Linked DNA regions of Homo sapiens: region 2 is linked to region 1. The links are contacts of gene promoters, found by promoter capture Hi-C in human tissues and cell types (Jung and others, 2019). All regions are on one chromosome and are shown on one strand. The core of a region is centred on a gene start or on the middle of the fragment in contact, and the rest is flanking DNA. Distances in the headings are between cores, read along the strand shown.

Region 1 (2,836 bases), core at 185-2,684:
ACTACACACACACACCCCTCACCTCTAGAACAAACACACACACATCTCACCTCTAGAACACACACACAACTCACCTCTAGAACACACACACACACACATCCCTTACCTCTAGAACACACACACCTCTCACTTCTAGAACACACACACCCATCATCTCTAGAACACACACATCTCACCTCTAGAACACACACCCCTCAACTCCAGAACACACACACACCCCTCACCTCTAGAACACACATACACACCTCATCTCTAGAACACACACTCTCCTCAGCTCTAGAATACACATACACCCCCTCACCTCTAGAACACACACACCCCTCACCTCTAGACCACACACACATCCCTCACCTCTAGACCACACACACATCCCTCACCTATAGACCACACACACACACCTGTCACCTCTAGACTACACACACACACCCCTCACCTCTAGAACACAGATACACACACACCTCTAGAACACATGCACGCACCCCTCACCTCTAGAACACACACACACACATCTCACCTCCAGAACACACACACCCCTCACTTCTAGAACACACACACCCCTCACCTCTAGAATACACACACCCCTCACCTCTAGAGCGCACGCACACACACCCCCTTCACCTCTAGAACACACATGCACACACCCCTCACCTCTAGAACACACATACAGACACCTCACCTCTGGAACACACACACCCCTTACCTCTAGAACACACACACACATCTCACCTTTAGAACACACACACACACCCCTCACCTCTAGAGCACACACACACACACACACCCCCACCTCTAGAGCACACACACACACATCCACCTCTAGAGCACACACACACCTCCCACCTCTAGAGCGCGCGCACACACACACCCCCCTCACCTCTAGAACACACGCACACACCCCTCACCTCTACAGTGTGTGTGTGCGCGCACACACACACACTCATCTCTAGACCCCGCACAGCGCACCCCTCACCTGCAGACACACTTCACAGCCCCCTCCTCACTCGCCCCCATCGTTCAGGACCATCGCTGTCTCCACACTCACCTCTCCCCTCAAGGCCTCTCTCATTGCCCCCTCACCCCGAACTTTAGCGCCAGTTTTCCCCTCCCCAGGCCCTCCCCACCGTTGCCTCTTTCCGGCTCCCCTTCCACCCGGCCGACTGCCTCACCGCTGCTCGGGACTCAGCAGTGCGCGGTACTCGGCGCAGCGGCCCAGGAAGATGTCCCGCAAGTGTGCGCTGGTGCCCTCCCCGCGCCACCGCGCGCGCGCCCCGCCCGCCGCCAGCAGCAACAGTAGAAGCAGAAGCTGCAGCAGCAGCTGGAGCAGCCGCGATGCCGCGCACCCCTGGGCCGCCATCGGGGAACTTTGGTCCCTCCAGTCCCGTGCTTCCTCCACTCCCCTTCTCTCCTTCTACCAAGGCGGTTCCGCAAACTGATGCAGGGCGGGACTCTCGCTCGGATATCTCGCTGTTTGCCGTTTCCCGTTCCAGACAATTTCAAGACTGAGCGTGGGGCGGGGCGCGGCGGCTCATGCCTGTAATCCCAGCACTTTGAGAGGCCTAGACGGGCGGATCGCTTGAGTATAGGAGTTCGAGACAAACCTGAGTAACATACAGGTGAGAAACCTCCTCTCTACAAAAAAATACAAAACTTAGCTGGTCCTGGTGGTGCGCATCTGTAGTCTCAGCTACCTGCGAGGTGAGATGTGAGGAGGCTTGACCCCAGGGGATCGAGGCTGCAGCGAGCAGTGATTGCACCACTGCACTCCAGCCCTGGGCGACAGAGTGAGACTCTGTCTAAAAAAAAAATTAATAAATAAATAAAATTAAAAAAGAGTGAGCTTGGAACATCACCCAGGACAGGACCAGTGCACTGTGGCCCAGGCTAATCTTGACCGCTGTCCACGGGGAGGGAGCCCCAAAGAAGCCGCAAGGTTGAAGGAGAGGTGAGGAGAGGTCAGTCATCATCAGAAGAAATACTTTTCTGGCTCCAAAGGACGACAACTTTGACAGATGCCCTCTTTCACACCAACCAATAAGTGGTGTTTGTTTGTTTTCAGGAAATAATAACCACAACAACGTGCCAAGCACTTTGCAAGTATAATATTAATTACTTTCCGCAACACCCTTCCTAGCTAAGTTTGTAATTTCTCTCGCTTTAGCAATGGATAAACTCAGGGAAGTTAAGCATGTTCGGCCCTCCAGATTTGCGGATTCATCATCCAAATTCAGCTAACCACGGATGAGAAACATTTGAGGAAAAAAAGAATGCTTGCATCTGTACGGAACATGTACGGACTTTTTTTTCCTTGTCATCATTCCCTAAATAATCCAATGTAACAACTACTTATGTAACAATTACATAGTACTTGATATTACAAGGAATCTGGAGATGACGTGAATTATAGAAGAGGATGTGCAAATACTGTATACTACACCATTTAATATAAGGGCCTTGAGCATCTGTGGATTTTGGTATCCAGGAGGTTCCTGGAACCAATTCTCCATGGATACCTACCGCCGACTGTAACTTGTCAGAGGTCACAATATCCCTTCCTGATAGATGCAAAATCCTGGAGATGTTCAGTTTAAGAGAGCCAGGATTGGCCGGGCGCGGTGGCTCACACCTGTAATCCCAGCACTTTGGGAGGCCGAGGCGGGTGGATCACGAGGTCAAGAGATCGAGACCATCCTTGCTAACACGGTGAAACCCCGTCTCTACTAAAAATACAAAAGATTAGCCAGGCGCGGTGGCGGGCGCCTGTTGTCCCAGCTACTCGGGAGGCTGAGGCGGGAAAACGGCGTGAACCCAGGAGGCAGAGCTCGCAGTGAGCCGAGAT
Region 2 (2,836 bases), core at 234-2,733, 1.7 Mb after region 1:
TGCAGTGAGCCGAGATCACACCACTGCACTCCAGCCTAAGCGACAGAGCGAGACTCCATCTCAAAACAAACAAACAAACAAAAAATGATATTTGATATTCCAGGTGCTTAGAGGTGATCTCCCAAGAGACAGTCAAGGCCCAAACCTTTCATTGCTCAAGGTTAGTCCTTTACTGTTCAGAACTGGTCGCATCTTGAAGTTCAGTAGAGCAGGGCTAACATCCTTCTGCTCCCACTTCCTGGCTGAGTGGCCTTGGGAAGATTCTTCAGGCTCTCTGAGCCTACTTTGCTTTACTTGCAACATGGAGATAATATCTTAGCTGACTGTTCGGAGCAAGGATGAAGCAAGGATGTGATAAACTGCAAAAGTAGTGAAAATTAGTTACATCCTGACTCAACCCAAAATGAACCAGAGGTTATTCTTGGGGGAAGATCATAGATTTGCAATACCTGGGGCATGTGCACTTGCAGAGAAAAATATCATTTCTATAGGGACACATCATCATTTCACTCAGCAGGCATTTCTGGGGTGCCTACGTGAGCCATATCCTGAAGAGGCAGGAATGAGAAAGGTACGTTTCTGGGCAAGTTGCTGTGATTTGGAAAGTGGTGGATGTAAGGATATTAGTTAGCCTGCAGATTAGCTCTGTCCCAGTGAGATGAGAAGCAATCTGCCTGTCCCAACTTTCCAAATGCCCAGTCAGCTTCTCTCACTAGGCACATCTCGTGGTTGCGCTCCGTGTGCTGGAATACACTATAACTGTGGCCCCCAAGCTTTTTGGCACCAGGAACCAGTTTCGTGGAAGATGATTTTTCCGTGGACTGTGGAGGGGGGCAGTTCAGGATGAAACTGTTCCACTCAGAACATTAGGCATTAGATTCTCATAAGGAACTCACAACCAAGATCCCTCACATGCTCAGTTCACAGTAGTATTCATGCTCCTATGAGAATCTAATGCCACCACTGATCTGACGGGTGGCAGAGCACAGGCAGTAATGCTCACTCACCCCCACCCCGCTCACCTTCTGGTGTGTGGCCCTGGTTCCTAACAGGCCATTGACCAGTACTAGTCTGTGGACTGGGGGTTGGGGACAACTGCTCTATAAGATACAATTGCTGGCCGGGCACGGTGGCTCGCACCTGTAATCCCAGCACTTTGGGAGACCGAGGAGGGCAGATCGCAAGGTCAGGAGATTGAGACCATCCTGGCTAACACAGTGATAACCCATCTCTACTAAAAAAAAATACAAAAAAATTAGCTGGGCATGGTGGCACATGCCTGTAGTCCCAGCTACTCGGGAGGCTGAGGCAGGAGAATCGCTTGAACCTGGAAGGTTGCAGAGAGCTGAGATCACGCCACTGCACTCCAGCCTGGGTGACAGAGAGAGACTCAGTCTCAAAACAAACAAACAAAAATACAATTGCTAGATATAATTGCTTTTTCTCCCCTTAACTACAACTTTAAAAAAATACCCTTAACAATGTAACAGCACACACACACACGTACACACACTTCTCATATTCTTAGAATATTGCTTTCACTTTATATACAACACCTGGCATCGGACAGCTTGGAGGAGGCGTTTTAAATATACTGTGCTCCCTTGCAGATGTTTTGAAAGCTAGTGGATTACAAAATATTAAATTGGAAAATTTTCCTTCTATGTTGTATTTTTGGGGGACTCAAAAATCTCTAGTCTCCAGGTCTTAAGACCTGTGATATAGTTTGGATGTGTGTCCCTGCCCAAATCACATATTGAAATGGAATCCCAAATGTTGGAAGTGGGGCCCATTGGGAAGTGTTTGGGTCATGAGGGGAGGCGGTTTCTCATGAATGCTTTAGCGCCATCTCCCTTGGTACTGTCCTCATGATAGTGAGTTCTCATGAGATCTAATCATTTAAAAGTGTTTAGCATCTCCCCACTCTCTCTCTTGCTCCTGCTTTCAGTCACGTGCCTGCTCCCTCCTTGCCTTCCTTTATGACTGGAAACTTCCTGAGGCCTCCCAGACGCAGAAGCCGCTATACCTTCTGTACAGCCTGCAGAACCATGAGCCAACTCAACTTCCTTTCTTATAAATTACCTAGTCTCAGGTATTTCTTTACAGCAATGCAAGAACAGACTAGTACAGCCAGTATAGTTTTGTGTCAGTCACTCATCAATTCAACAAAATTTTATTGAGTGCCTACTATGTGCTATCAGTATTATAAGCAATAGCAGGGAAAAAAACAAAAACAAAAAACAAACAGATGTTTAAAATCCCTGCCTTTGTGGCACTTACATTCTGGTGGACTCTGACAGAATATTGGCTTTGGAAAGTTATGCACTAAGCACAAGTCACTTATCAACTGTGAGACCCTGAGCACCTGACCAAATCCATCTGAGCCCCTTTCATCATTTTGAAACAGACCTAAAAATACCAGCTTCCTAGGGTTATTGTGAAAATAAACTAAGCAAACATAATAAAGCACCTAGAACAATTTTGGCTTATAGAAGCTGCTGGATGTCTATTAGGTTTTCTTTCCCTTCTACCATTTATTTCCAGGACCCCATGCTATACTGGTTATAAAGCCAAGGGAAGAGAAGGCATTATTAGGTGCAGATTAATTAGAAGGAAGACATGCTTGCCACTGGACAAACTCAGGTAAAACTTAGGTCTGGTGTCTTGACCTGCTTACCTACTATTTCATCTTTACTCACTCAAACAAAGAAGATACTGACAGATAGAAGGAAAGACTCCAGGGCATGGTGAGGAGACCTGATTTTAATTCTAGCTCCTCAAACAATAGCTATATATCTTTGTGGAATTTACTTTTCAGTCTCAATTCCCTGACCTG

Evidence for each region. The method cuts DNA at HindIII sites, captures the fragments that hold promoters and counts their contacts. A contact is called where the count stands out against the background at its distance.
Region 2: a fragment that was not itself captured here is called in contact with the fragment with the promoter of BST1 in region 1 in 1 of the 25 tissues and cell types used here (dorsolateral prefrontal cortex).

Annotation. Positions count from the first base shown.
Region 1 is chr4:15,701,663-15,704,498 of GRCh38, reverse strand. It overlaps BST1 (bone marrow stromal cell antigen 1), which reads right to left and starts at 1,434. Exons shown (of 9, transcript NM_004334.3): 1 at 1,167-1,434. The coding sequence starts at 1,354. RefSeq lists a silencer at 1,416-1,495. The HindIII fragment of the contact is 14,003 bases long and covers 1-2,836 here.
Region 2 is chr4:13,953,876-13,956,711 of GRCh38, reverse strand. No RefSeq gene overlaps it. Among named protein-coding and RNA genes, the nearest start is that of LINC01085, 160 kb to the left of the region's middle. The HindIII fragment of the contact is 5,999 bases long and covers 1-2,836 here.